Linked DNA regions of Homo sapiens: region 2 is linked to region 1. Evidence: promoter capture Hi-C in 16 types of primary human blood cells and fetal thymus (Javierre and others, 2016). All regions are on one chromosome and are shown on one strand. Each heading gives the region's core, a stretch centred on a gene start or on the middle of the fragment in contact. The rest is flanking DNA. Distances are from core to core; before and after follow the strand shown.

The links. Contacts are between HindIII fragments. The CHiCAGO score rates a contact against its expected background, and 5 or more counts as called.
Region 2: a fragment that was not itself captured here is called in contact with the fragment with the promoter of GPR88 in region 1 in 1 of 17 cell types (megakaryocytes); the score reaches 5.2 in megakaryocytes.

What each region holds. Positions count from the first base shown.
Region 1 is chr1:100,534,112-100,541,831 of GRCh38, forward strand. It overlaps GPR88 (G protein-coupled receptor 88), which reads left to right and starts at 4,028. Exons shown (of 2, transcript NM_022049.3): 1 at 4,028-4,391; 2 at 4,783-7,720. The coding sequence starts at 4,856. The coding sequence ends at 6,010. RefSeq lists enhancers at 4,452-5,301, 4,750-5,149, 5,302-6,150 and a silencer at 5,420-5,589. The HindIII fragment of the contact is 8,214 bases long and covers 858-7,720 here.
Region 2 is chr1:100,766,483-100,774,202 of GRCh38, forward strand. No RefSeq gene overlaps it. Among named protein-coding and RNA genes, the nearest start is that of VCAM1, 51 kb to the left of the region's middle. The HindIII fragment of the contact is 2,205 bases long and covers 2,291-4,495 here.

The sequences.
Region 1 (7,720 bases), core at 2,778-5,277:
TGTCATGAAAGTATATTTGTTAAGTTAGGAGAATAGAACATATTTAATAGTTTGATAGCTGGATTTATGATTTTAAAATATTTAGACATTGGCAGGCAAACTTCCTTTTGAACACCTGCTCTGCCCTGCAAATTTAGGTGGGGGGGGTGGGGGAGACTGGGTACCTTGTCACCCTGGCATGAGGAATAAATGTAACAACAGATAAAAAATACTCAAAGCATGGCTTGGCACATATGGTATGTACTCGACGGCATTGAAAATAATGATGTTTATGATTCTCCTGAAATCTTAAAAAGGAAGCTGGCTGCCCTCCCTTCATCTTTCTCCATCTCTGTGGGCTGGAATGTGGATGTGGATGTAGCAGTGGTGAAATAACTCCTGGGGGGAATTTTATCTTAACCTTGACACTAAGAAAGGACAAGATGGCACAAGAAAAATAAACCAAGTGGGCTTTACTTATGATGCAAAACTCTTAAATAAAATACTACCAAATAGAATCCTACAGTCTATCTTTAAAAGGATAATATATTGTAACCAAACAGGGTTTATCAGAGGAATGCAAAGATGATTCAACTTTTAAAAATATATCAAATGTAACCTACTACATCAACAGCTAAAAAAAAATTCACTTCATATAAAAGTCATACTAGAAATAGATAGAAATGTCTCTAACTTATAAACAATATATCAGAAAACTATAACAAACACCATATTTGATAGTGAATTATTAGAAACACTAGGGTAACAATGGGGACTATTAACCAAATCAGTGACCATAGGAGAATGAGTGGGATGAGGAGGGAGAGAGGCCAGCCGAATGGAGAGTTCCAACACGTCTGCAACTCTGGAAAGAAGTAAGCTTGGTGGGAAAGAATCTGTGGGTGACCCATAGGCGAGAGTGGAAGGCAGGAATCAGATGAGATCAATTAGGGAGAGAGAGTAGGGTGAGAAGAGAACCAAGAAGAGAAGCCAGGAACACTATCTTAAAGGAGCCATGACACTGGGGAGCCAGAGACTGAGTCTGGAAGGGAGCAGACAGAGGAACAGAAGCAAAGGGAAACCTGGAGGGAAATGGCACTGAGGAGGAGGGTGTTCTTCACAGAGTCAAAGTAGAGGGCAAGGATTTAGGAGTCACGATTTGCTACTGAGAGGCTACTGTTAACCTTGGCCAAAGCTGTTTCTGTGGAGCAGGGAGAGCTAAGGGCCGTGTGGGTGGGTATTCAATGGTAAAATCAGAAGTAGAAGGAGAAAATGAGCACTTCCATCAGGAAGGGGAAGTGAGCTGTGTGTAGGCACCATGAGAAGGAGGTGAAGTTCCAGGGGAGTTTTATGAGGTTGTGGTGAAATCAGCATTTTTGTAAGTCTGAAGGGGAGCAAGCAGTGGAGAGCAGAGAGACTGACAAGAGACAGCAGAAAGCAGATGACTGATGGGGCAAGTTCCTGCTGAAGGTGGGAGGAAAGAGATGCTCATAAAAGTGAATTACTGTTTCACCGTGGAGAAAACATAAATGAAATCATTTACACTGCCATTCACTTATTAATTCAGTAAGTATTGATTAAGTTTCTACTATGTCCCAGGCACTGACCTGGTGCTGGAAATAAGATAGAAAAAATTCCCACCCTATATTATGTAAGTTCATTAACTTAAAACAAAAGGAAAACCAAATCCAGAAACAAACAAAAATTTGGCCCCTGTCAGGCCAGCGCTAAGGGAGGCATGGTCTTGGAGGAAGTGTGTGTGACTGCCAGGCACTGGAGTCCCTCAGCAGGAATGCTGCTCGTCTCAAAGGCAACACAAAGTGGCAGCTGGGACCAGGGATCCAGAATTTGAATACCCTCCCACCACATTCTATCAGAGAGTCCTTTAGGACTATGTTAATGTGAGAGAAAAAACTTTACTTCAATGGCAAGTTTTAACTATGAATGATTAGGAGAGTCTCCTTTCTCCTGAAACATTGCTCTTAGGGACAGAGTGGAAAAGACTCCTGGACATATGGGCCAGAACTACAATGCATGTTACAGAGAAGAGGTATACGCCATGTGTCATAACTAGAAAGGAGAAATGCAGGCTTGCTGTGCTTAATGCACTCAAAACCTCAATAAGGACAAATGGCAATAGGCAAAAAGATGATGACAAATACTCATCTCATTTACATCAGTAAACTTGATATCGAAACCTTCAACCCTCTGAATAGCAAGTCACTGGTTCTTTTCTTTCACTTCCCCCTCCGGCCCCTGCCCCTGCCCCAACCAATTTCATTCAGATATAGCTTAGCTGGACCAAATCTATCAAGTCATGCTTATCCTTAATCCTCATCAGAGTTCTTGAAGTCATCAACTAACCATATTGATTTTGAAATAGAAAAAGAAAAGCAGAGAAGCTGTGTTTTGACCTCTCTCCTGAAACATTGCTCTTAGGGACATATGACCCAGAACTACAACTGCAATGCATGTTAGATAGAAGAGGTATATGCCATGTGTCATAATTAGAGAGAAGAAATGCTAAATTCATGAATAGGGATTCACAGAAAGTTTTAACAGAAAGGGCCTTTGAAGTGACTGACTGTGAACTTATTTGACAAGATGAAAATAATCCATCGCAAGGCTACATGATGGATGCTCGGCTTAGTATCTGGGTGTGCTGCAACCCCACCTAACATTTTTTTCTATTATGCCATGTTACCATATTCCCATATTGAGTTACATTTTCAAATACATGACTTTTCCAGTGAATAATTGAGAGAACTCCTTTTCTGAAAAAATTCCCACATGGAATGGATAAATGAACACTTGCACCAAAGAAGATGCCAACATCAGACTGCAAATCTCCAAGACAGACAAGACAAAAAGTTCTGAAGTGAAAAGTCATCTTTGTTCACACTGTGGATTATTCAGGTTTCTTGCTTTCCCCCTGACACACATTTTTTTAAAATTGACTTTATTTTTTTAGAGCAATTTTAGATTCATGGCAAATTTGAGTGAAAGATACAGAGATTTCCCATGTACTCCCTGCCCCTCGCATACATAGCCTCTCCCATTATCAAAATCCCCCACCAGAGTGGTTCGTCTGTTACAATTGAATGTACGTTGACACATCATTCCCCAAAGTCCATGGCTTACACTGATGTTTCACATTCTGCCACTTTGGGCAAATTTATAAGTACACAGATCCACTATTATGGTATCATACAGAGTAGTTCCACTGTCCTAAGAATCTTCCGTGATCATCTATTCATTCCTCCTTTCCCCCTAACTCGGGCAACCACTGGTCTTTTTAACTGTCTCCATAGTTTTGCCTTCTCAAGAATGTCATAGTTGGTAGCATACAGTATGTAGTCCTTTCCAGTTGGCTTCTGTCACTTAGTGATACACACTTAAGGTTCCTTCATGTCTTTTCATGGCTGGACAGCTCATTTCTTTTTAGCACTGAATAATATTCCATTGTCTAGATGTACCACTGACATCTGCTTTAAATCTTTTGCCCATTTCATTTTTACCCTCTAACCATTTCATTACTAAAACACAAAACAAACTCCGGAAAGGAGTTTGTTGATGAGAAAACACTGAAAGTACGATTTAAATTGAGGAATGGAGATTTTCTGTGGATAATTGTCTATGTTCCACTTTACCAAAGAAAAATGAATTTCAAGTAGTGCATAAAGTAATTCTCGTTAAAAAATGTGGGAATAAAGAGATCAGTCCTGGGTACTGGGAATATATTTATCTCACAGAAAAATCTTGCCCACAAAATGCATCAGACTGAGATGAAATACTCTAGGGTATATTAAATTTTATTCTAATATTGAAGGGAGGGAAAAAAAGGACGGAAAGAAAAATGAAACAGGATGAAAAATAAGGTGATTGGGAGAGAGAAAAGACAGAGAAACTTGTTAACGACAGGACTTTCTGAGCAAGATATTTTTCTTCCTTTTACAAGTTGGAAGCTATTGAATAATTCATGCCAAGCGTGGAAAGGCTGTCTTTTCCCTGGATGATGTATAACTAAGCAGGAGAGAGCTTCGAGTGGGTTCACCACATCAGCCACCACTCCTGCTTCTGAGCACAGGGTGCTCTCCTCTTGAGCTCAGCTTCTGCTTTTGCAGCCAAGCATTCTTGCTGCTGCTGCCTGCCTGCCCACCCGCCTGGGCTTGCAGCCCGCCACTTTACTTTCTCCAGCCCTGATACCAGCTGAGAAGTCTCCCTGCAGCTGCTAGTTCCTGCCCAGGACCATGTGTGTGGATGCTGCTTGGGAGAAGCGGGCACTTGCTCCTGGCACTGATCCCAGCTGAGTTTCTCCTGTTGATTTCTGGACCACTGATGCTGTTGCTGAGGAGGTATTTCCCGGCATCCCTCCCCCTGAGACACCGGCTAAGGACCAGCCTAAACGCAAGGTAACCTTCACCTCTTTCCCATGGGATTTTCCCCAGCTGGGATATCTCTGCTTTCTCCTGGAACTAGGTCCTCCAGCTGGCAACATATCTCTCTCTCTCTCTCTCTCTCTCTCTCTCTCTCTCTCTCTGTGTGTGTGTGTGTGTGTTGGGGGAGAAGAGGAGACTGTTTTAGGTATTGCTCTGTCCTAGGGCTTCCCCGATACCTGCTGAATCCAATGCAAAGTGGCCTTTCCCCTGGCTCTGGAGACATTTCCGAGGCAGGCACCTGTCATCTGCCACCCCCGTCCTCCTCCTCGAGCTCCCTTTCTCCCCCTCCCCCAGCCCATTATTCTGCTTCAGCCTTTTGTGTCAGTGGCAGAGGGCTGAAGGGATGTCTTTGCCCTTCTGGCAGGCAGGACAGTGTCAGGATGGACCGCGCTGCCAGAAGCCGACGCTAGCGAGGGAGGTGTGAAGAGTTGGCCAGAATGACCAACTCCTCCTCCACATCCACCTCCTCCACCACCGGTGGCTCGCTGCTGCTGCTCTGCGAGGAAGAGGAGTCGTGGGCGGGCCGGCGCATCCCGGTGTCACTCCTGTATTCGGGCCTGGCCATCGGGGGCACGCTGGCCAACGGCATGGTCATCTATCTCGTGTCGTCCTTCCGAAAGCTGCAGACCACCAGCAACGCCTTCATCGTGAACGGCTGCGCCGCCGACCTCAGCGTCTGCGCCCTCTGGATGCCGCAGGAGGCGGTGCTCGGGCTCCTGCCCACCGGCTCTGCGGAGCCCCCCGCAGACTGGGACGGCGCTGGGGGCAGCTACCGCCTGCTACGGGGTGGGCTGCTGGGCCTCGGACTCACGGTGTCCCTCCTCTCCCACTGCCTCGTGGCCCTGAACCGCTACCTGCTCATCACCCGGGCGCCCGCCACCTACCAGGCGCTGTACCAGAGGCGCCACACGGCGGGCATGCTGGCGCTGTCCTGGGCGCTCGCCCTGGGCCTCGTGCTGCTGCTCCCGCCCTGGGCACCGCGGCCCGGCGCCGCGCCACCGCGAGTCCACTACCCGGCGCTGCTGGCCGCCGCGGCGCTGCTGGCGCAGACAGCTCTGCTGCTGCACTGCTACCTGGGCATCGTGCGCCGCGTGCGTGTCAGCGTCAAGCGGGTCAGCGTGCTCAACTTCCACCTGCTGCACCAGTTGCCCGGCTGCGCCGCCGCCGCCGCCGCCTTCCCGGGCGCCCAGCACGCGCCGGGCCCCGGTGGCGCCGCGCACCCGGCGCAGGCCCAGCCCCTGCCGCCCGCGCTGCACCCGCGGCGGGCACAGCGGCGTCTCAGCGGCCTGTCGGTGCTGCTGCTCTGCTGCGTCTTCCTGCTGGCCACGCAGCCACTGGTGTGGGTGAGCCTGGCCAGCGGCTTCTCGCTGCCGGTGCCCTGGGGAGTGCAGGCGGCCAGCTGGCTCCTGTGCTGCGCCCTGTCCGCGCTCAATCCGCTGCTCTACACGTGGAGGAACGAGGAGTTCCGCCGCTCCGTGCGCTCAGTCCTGCCGGGCGTCGGCGACGCGGCGGCCGCTGCCGTTGCCGCCACAGCCGTGCCCGCAGTGTCCCAGGCGCAACTGGGCACCCGCGCCGCGGGCCAGCACTGGTAACCTAGCCGGGGCCCGAGGGAAGCGGAGATCCCCGGCTTCCGACGTCCTTGGGCACCGTCGCCTCCTTCCCTCCTAGGGCATCCCCTGCCTGAACGAAGACTTCCGCCGCGAAGCCCGATAGATCGGGGGAAAATGGGGCCTTCGACCCCAGCGGGCTACCTGAACCAAGGCGTCTCTTTAAGTGGGGCGCCCGAAGTCATTTTGGACGGCCACCTGATTTTTACCCTTTGTTTCTGTGTTTTAGAGGAATCCTAAAGTCAAAACACCAGAGACTTGAAGAACTTGCAAACTGGCGTTTTAAAATAACCGGTTAATTTATTTCCACACAGTTTGTTTTTGAAAAAGAGCTTTCATAATGTATAACCCTTTCCACTTTCATCGTCTTATATATGAAGCGCCTTGAGTGTGCATGAACCAAAGGAAATAACATTGAAGAAGGAAAACAATATGTAGAAAGTATTTTAGAAAGTAACCTGTCTTTGATGATGCTTCTCTTACCATTTAGTTTTTGTATATTACCCTGGGGCAGTGAAGCCCTAGGTGTGCCCACCAGTATGAGTTGCCATTAAGACCTCAAGCCCTTTATTCTTAAAAGGGTTTTTAATAAAGTCTTTCTCAAATGAGGTAGAATCTTAGCCAGTGAGAAAAAAAATTATTTTATGCTCCTTTTTTTTCGCACTCTTAAGACTGAAAATTGGCGTTGAGTGTTATAGTGAAAATTTTCCAGTTTGATAATTGATGGTCAGAGCCAGCACTGGAATTTTGAAAACAAATAAGGTGATTATCTATTTTAGGTACCGTTTCACATTTTCTATAGCATGCACACTTGTTGCTACCCTCATTTTGTAACCAATTTATTTGCCTTATGAATGTGATTGCAGCTTTGAACATTCTGTACTATAATGGTTGCTAAGAAGAATAAGTCCTTCTGTTTTCTCTTTAACATTTAAAATATCTCAATGCACATGATATAATTAAACACTAATAATACCATGACTGCATAGCTAATATTAGCTGCTATTGCATGCTCCTAGATGCTAGAACTTATTGGGCATGTGGTATACTGAAGCAATACCCGTTAGACAAGGATATTTTACTTCTTCCAGACACCAGAAGAAATGGCCTTCAATTATTTGAAAAGAGACACAGAGACACCTCTGGCTACCTAGAGTTCTTCCTGTCTTGACCCAATTTATGAGAAAGCTCCCAGTTGGGACTTTATCTCACAAGTGGAATCACAGTCAAGACGGATCAATAATATGGTTTGGCTCAGCAAAGCCAGCTGTGCTCTTTTAGGGTTTAAACAAGCCACACGTTAGAAAGCAACACTGTTTTTATGTAGTTCATATATATTACCATGACATTTAACATCAATATCGTATATGTTGAAGGAGGTATAATAAACTCAGTCATATATAGTGAACAGTTCAAATGGGAAAGTGTTCTAAAACATATTATTTGAGATTTGTCATATTCATCTTTGGTTTACTAAATTTACTTAGAAATATTTGAAATGCAAAATTGTGTGAAATCACCTTATCAAATTAAAATGGGAAGAAAGTAATTTTAATAATTTTTAATAATCATATGTCAGCATTCTGACTACTTACCACATCAAATCTGGGCCCAAACAGCCTCAGTTAACTGCATAATTCAGGAACAAAACCAGCTTGCTTTGTTGCACGCCTGGGCAATTTCAGCCAGGACATT
Region 2 (7,720 bases), core at 2,143-4,642, 230 kb after region 1:
ACAGAGTAGTAATGCAAGAATTGAAAAGTGGCCACGTATTTAGATTCAAGGCACATCCTACAGATTCATATATTAATACCAAGATTATAGGAAATGATGTAAACTTTTTAATATATGGTGGTAAATAAAGTCTTGTAATCATTACTGAGATTTGGAGAGAGAGAATTCAAAATTAGAATATAATAAAGGAAGGATATTTTTAAACATTGTAAGAGACTACTTAATAGGGAAGCAAAACTTCATTAATAGGGAAGAAGAGGGGAAACTTGCCAAGAAGATATATGGCTGAGTAGATATCTATGGACCTAAAGACAGAAGAGATTATGGAGAATATTTGGATGAGTACAAAGTGGATAGTAACTAATTTAATGAATGCAATGTTAGCTCCTGACGCATTCTTAATTATATAAGGAGCTGGTATGAGACCAATTCATTCATTACCTCTTGATATATTCAGCAAATTGTATCTGATGTTAAGGAACCACCAGGGATTTTAGACAAAGGGTTGCAGAGGTGGTGACATCTGGGTTGATTCCCGAAAGATGGCTGATTGTTATTCCAACTTCCTCTAATCAGGAGTTCTAACTTAAGAAAAAAGGATGGATGTCAGGAACACTCACTGGTAAAAGGACAAGTTCTTCAATAAATGATGCTAGGAAAACTGGATATCTATATGCAGAAGAATGAAACTAGACCACCAACTCTCCCTCTATACAAAAGTCAACTCAAAATGGATCAAATACCTAAATGTAAGACCCCAAACTATAAAACTACTGGAAGAAAACATAGGGGAAATAATTCAGGAACATTGGTCTGGGAAATGATTTTATGAATCATTTCCTCAAAAGCATAGGTAACACATGCAAAAGTAAACAAATGGGATTATGTCACACTAAAAAGCTTCTGCATGGTAAAAGAAATAATCAACAGAGTGAAAAGATAACCTAAAAGATTGGAGAAAATATTTGTTTGCTATTCATGCAACAGTATATGAATATCTAGAATATATGAGGAACTGAACTATCTCAACAGCAAAAAAAAAAATCTGATTAAAAAATGTGCAAATGATCTAAACAGATGTTCCTCAAGAGAAGACATAAAAATGACTAACAAATATATGAGACTATGCTCAACATCATTAATCATCAGAGAAATGCAAATCAAAACCACAATGAGGTATCATCTTACCCCAGTTAAGATGGCTATTATCAAAAAGACAAAAAAATAAAACTGTGAGTATGCAGAGAAAAAGGAACTCTGACATACTGTTGGTGGGAATGTAAATTAGTACAGCCACTATGTAGAACAGTATGGAGTTTCCTCAAAAAATATATAAATATATAAAGAACTACCATATGATCCAGCCATTCTACTACTGGGCATTTATCCAAAGGAAAGGAAATCATTATATCAAAGAGACATCTGCACATCTATGTTTATTGCAGCACTATTCACAATAGCCAAGATATGGAATCAACCTAGGTGTCCAAAAGTAGATGAATGGATGAAGAAAATGTAGTATATATACAAAATGGAATACTATTCAGTCATAAAAAGAATGAAATTCTGCCATTTGTAACAACATGGATGGAACTGGAAGACATATTAAATGAAATAAGCCACAAACAGAAAGTTGAACACCACATGGTCTCACTCACAGATGGAAGCTAAAAAAAAGTTGATCTCATTGAAGTAAAAAGTAGAACAGAGGATCCTAGAGACTGGGAAGGGTGGAGGGATGGGGGGATAGGGACAGAATAGTTAAAGGATACAAAATTACAGCTAGATAGGAGAAATAAGTTCTAGTGTTCAGTAGCACCAAAGGATGACTATGGTTAACACTAATATATAGTTTCAGGTTATTGAAACCTGAAAGAAGGAGGTTATTGAATGTCCTCAGCAAAAGAAATGACAAATGTTTGAGATGATGGATATGCTAATTATCCTGATCTGATCATGATACATTATATGTATTGAAACATCACTACGAACCCCATAATTATGTACAGTTATTACATGTCAAAAATAAAAAAGAAACGGATGGTTAAAAGTATGGCTGTTATAGTTAGGCCTTTTTTTGTTGAAGATAAAAAACCAATTCAATCTGGTAAAAGAGGAATTCTATGAACCTACCTAGCTAAACCTTGGGAAAGGTAGGATAGATCATTGGAAGCACAAACTCAGGACTCTTAATTTTTCCTTTTCTCATCTCTTCTCCTCTCTATGGGCCAAATTTCTACTCTTCAGATAAGATCATCCATAAGTTGGGAGGACAGGCATTGCTGAAGGAAGCTTTTCTGATCTGAGAGGAAAAATATTCTCTTTCTTTACCTTCAGTTTGAAAATGTCTATAGAAGGAATCTGATTATAATAATATAATTATAATCAATTATACAATTAATTTTAATTAATTAATTAACAATATAATTATAATTAATCAGATTCCTTCCATAATTAATCAGATTCCAATTAACAAGGGCAGGATTCCTGCCCTTATTAGCATCTTAAATCAGGGAGACAGGGTCAGCTCGTCTGATGCATAACCATGATGGGAAATGTACCTTGTCCCTGAGGGAACTGTGAGCAGGCATCTCTGTTTATGTCTAATCCAATGGCATACCTAGGGAATTATAAGTGATTTGATGTTACTGAATCTGAGGGAAGGCTAAAAGCAGATATTCTAGTTAAGAAGTTATTTTAATACAAGTAGAAAATGGTGAAGGCTTGAACTAAGGCAATGGTAGTTCCCACAGAAAGGCATGGAGATGAGAAAATTTGAAAAGTAGAATTGATAGAACTTGGTGATAGATTTCTGAGAAAAATAAGGGAGAAGTCAAAATAAAGGAAAAATACAAGAATCCCAGATTTGGGAAAGAGAAGATGGGTATAATAGTCACCGAAATAGTAATTAAATAGGATTTAATGACAGAGATTAGGATTATACAATCTCTGTATACAGAGATGAATACACAGATCAGAGTCAAGAAAGAAACCAGAGCTGGAGATACAGACTGGGAGTCATCAGACAAAGATGGTTGGTGAAGTCAGAGAGATGCATGAGATCACCAAGATAACATATACAGTTATGTATCACTTAAGGATAGGATACATTCTGAGAAATGCATCGTTAGGTGATTTTGTAGTTGGATGAACATCATAGAGTGCACTTAACACAAACATAGATGGTGTAGCCTACTACACACCTGGCCTAGATGGTATAGTCTACTGCTCCTAGGCTATGAACCTGTACAGCATGCTACTGTGCTGAATACTGTAAGCAGTTGTAACACAGTGGTCAGTATTTGTGTACCTAAACATATCTAAACATAGAAAAGCTACCGTAAAAATATGGTATTATAATCTTATGGAACTGCTGTCATATATGCAGTCCATTGTTTACTGAAACGTCATTATGTGGCAGATGGCTGTATAAAGTAAGGGAAAAAAAACTAAAATCCTAAGGACACCAATATTTAATGAGAAAAGATAGTAGAGTAAATGAATTCAACAAAGAACAATAAAAGGAAATAGTCAGGAAACCAAAGCGGTAAGAGTGTACTTAGTATACCAGGGAAGGAAAATTTCAAGCAGGGAACGTGGTCAATGATGACATTTGCTGTAGTGAAATTGAGTAAAACAATGACTGCAGTGAAATAGAATAAAACAATGATTTCAGAGTGAACATTCCATTTGGCACTTACTGAGGCTGCCGGTAAGTGTTGCCAAAGCAATTTCAGAGGAGTCAAAAGAATGATATGTGATAACAGTGATTTGAGGAGCAAATGAGAGGTAAAGAAATGGTAACAGCAATTATGGATTAACCCTTTAGAAAGTTTGCTTATGAAAGTGTCATTTAAAGAAGTCAGAACCAATGCCAACAAGTATGTTTTCATTTCCCTTGGATAAAAAAAAAACTAGATGTGAAATTGCTGGGTCATGGGGTTGTGTATATTTAGCTTTACAAGAAACTATAAACTTTTCCAAGTAGTCATGCCATTGCACACTGCCACCACCAAAGTATGAGAGTCCCTCTTGGGCCACATTCTTGTCAATGCTTGGTATTAACTTTAACCATTCTAGTAGATAAAGAGTGGCATATCATGGTGATTTTAATTTACATTTCCCTGAAGACGAGTGCTGTTGGGAGCTTTTTCTGTGTTTATTGACCATTCATATATTCTGTTTTTAATTGTCTCAAAATTTTCTGCCCAAATTTTAAAAACTGGGTTGTTGATTTTTAAAATTATTGTTACTTAATACCATAATTGTCTATATAACTTAGAAACAAGTCCTTCATCAGATATACATGTAGCAAATGTTTCCACAGTCTTTAGCTCACATCATTGTTTTATTATCAGTGTTTCATTGAGAGAAGTTCTTAATATTTATAAATTACACTGTATCAATTTTTCTTTATGCTTAATGCTTTTAGAATTCTAAGAAATCTCTGCATATCAGAAAGTCTTAAATATGTTTTCCTGTTATTTTTCCTAGAAGCTTTACAGTTTTTTTAGTTTAGTCCTGTCATTCATTTCACATTAATATTTATGTATTACATAACATAGCAGTTAAGATTCATATTTTTTCCTTACAAAAATCCTGTTGTTACAGCAACATTTGTTTAAAGACTTCCCCTTCTCTATTGAATTGTCTCGGTACCTTGTCAAAAGTAATTGACTTTTAAAAGTGTATATGTTTATTTTTGGTCTGTCTATCCAGTTTTATTGACCTACTGATCTATATTTTATTAACATCTTACTATTATGATTATATAGCTTTTTAATGAGTTAATAAGTTATGGAGTCAGTGTAACTACTACAATTTTATTCTTATTTTTTAAGGTTATATTCCAGGTCCTTTGCATTTTCATATAAAGTTTAGGTTTAGCTATCAGTTTCTACCACATTTAAAAAAAAAAAAAAAAGGCTGGGCATGGTGGCTCTTGCCTGTAATCCCAGCACTTTGGGAGGCCGAGGCAGGCAGACCACCTGAGGTCAGGAGTTTAAGACCAGCCTGGCCAACATAGTGAAACCCCATCTCTACTAAAAATGCATAAATTAGCTGGGCGTGGTGGCACATGCCTGTAATCCCAGCTACTCAGGAGGCTGAGGCAGGAGAATAACCGGAACCCAGGAGGTGGAGGTTGCAGTGAGCTGAGATTGCACTCCAGCCTGGGCGACAGAGCGAGACTCTGTCACACACACACACACACACACACACACACACACACAAACACACACACACACACACAAAATAGCTTGCTTGGAATTTAAATGATATTGCCTCAGGTCTATACATCAATTTAGGGAAGACTGATGTCTTAACAATATTTAGTTTTCCAATCCATGTGTTCGTAGACACAAAAATTCTTAGCAAATAGAATCTAGCAATATACAAAAATAAATCTATTTCTTCTTTTAGTTCTGCCAATATTTGTTTAATGTGTTTTGAAACAGTATTATTAGGAGCATACATATTTAGTGTCATTAAACCTTCTTGATGAATTGATCCTTTTATCGTTATGAAATAATTTTATCTCTGATGATATTCTTTGTCTTGAAGATTCATTTCTTTGATACTAATAGCAAACTGGTGTCACCATATCAGTCAGTGTCTTTCTTGCATATTTTTTCATCCTTTACTTTCAACCTGCCTGTGTCTTCATATTTCAAGTGCATCCCTTTTAATCTGTGTATAGTTATACCTTGCTTTTTTGTTGTTTAATTCAGTCTGCAATATTTGCCTTTTAACTATAGTTCATTTGCATTGGTTTAATTATTGATATGATGGGGTTCTAAACTATCATCTTGCTTTTGTTTTCTACTTGCTTCGTTTTGTGGATATCTTTTTCTTCTTTCTTCTCTGCCTTGAGTATTTTTTAGAATTTCCTTGTTTCCTCTATTTGTTTTTTGAACTACCTCATTGTATTATTACATTTTGTGGTTTCTCTAGAGATTACGTATAATATGCATTCTTAGTTTGTCACAGTCTAGAATTAATATTACATTATTTTATATATAACAACCTTAGAGCAGTAAGGTATGTAATTTTCACTTATATCCCTTCCTGTCATTTGTGCTACTCTTGTCATACATTTTACTTCGACATTTATTTTGAACCCCAAATACATTTTTTACTATTTTTGCTTTAGTCAATTAACTTTTAAAGAAATTAAGAAAGAAAACCAAATGTTTATATTTACCCACATATTTATAATTTCTTCTCCCTTTCAATTCAGAATTCCATTTTTTATCATTTCCCTTCAGCCTATAAAACTTTCTTTGGCAGTTTTTGTAGTGCAGAGATACTGGCAACATATTCACTTTGTTTTTATCTAAAAATGTCTTTTGTTTGCTTTCACTTTTTTACACTTCTCTTTGAAACGTTTTATTGTGATAACATGTCATAAAATTTGGCATTTTAACCATTTTTAAGTGTACATTCAGTGGTATTAGCCACACTCATAATGTTGTACAACCACTGGCATTATCTATTTCTAAGAGTTTTTTATCAACCCCCACCAAAAACTCTACAACCAACCATTAAGCCATAAGTTCCCATTCCCTTCTTCCCTTAGCCCCTGGTGATGCCTAATCTGCTTCTGTCTCTATTCTAAAAATTTTCTATAAGTGAAACAATGTAATGTTTGCCCTTTTTGTATGGCTTATTTTGCTTAACTTAATGTTTTCATGGTTCATCCATTTTGTAACATGTTTTAGAATTTTATTCCTTTTGATGGCTAAATAATATTTTTTGTATGTATATATATGCCACATTTTGCTCATCCACTTATCTGTTGATAAACACTTGGGTTGTTTCTACATTTTGGTTATTATGAATAATGCTAAAATTAATATTGGTCTACAAATATCTATTTGAGTCCCCATTTTTAGTTTTGGGGAGTATATACCTAAGAATAGAATTGTTAGATCATATGATAATTCTATGTTTAGCTCTTCAAGGAAAGGCCAAGCTGTTTTCCACAGCAGCTGCACCATTTTACATTCCCACCAGCAATGTAGAAGGGTTGCAGTTTCTCCACAACCTTGCCAACACTTGCTATTTTCCTTTGTTTTGATTTTTAATTTTTTTAAATTCTAGCAATCCTAAATAGATGTGAAGTGCTATCCCATTGTGGTTTTGATTGTATTTCCCTAATGACTAATAATGTTGCACAACTTTTCATGTGCTTACTGGCCATTTGTAATTATTTGGGAAAACGTCTTTTCAAGTTCTTTGCCCATTTTCTTTTTTCTTTTTTTTTTTTTGAGATGGAGTCTCGCTCTGTTGCCCAGCCTGGATTGCAGTGGCATGATCTCTGCTCACTGCAACATCTATCCAATCGGTTCAAGCAATTCTCCTGCCTTAGCCTCCTGAGGAGCTGGGATTACAGGCATGCACCACCACACCTGGCTAATTTTTTTATTTTTGGTAGAGACAGCGTTTCACCGTGTTGGCCAGGCTGGTCTCAAACTCCTGACCTCAAGTGATCTGCCTGCCTTGGCCTTCCAAAGTGCTGGGATTACAGGAGTGAGCTTCTGCGCCTGGCCTCTTTGCCCATTTTAAAGTTGGGTTGTTTGTCTTCTTGTTGTTGCAATGTAGGAATTTTTTAAAAATTCCAGATGGTAAACCCTATCAGATATTTGATTCGAAAACATTTACTCCAATTCTATAGGTTGTCTTTTTACTTTCTTGATAATGTTCTTTAATGCACAAAAGT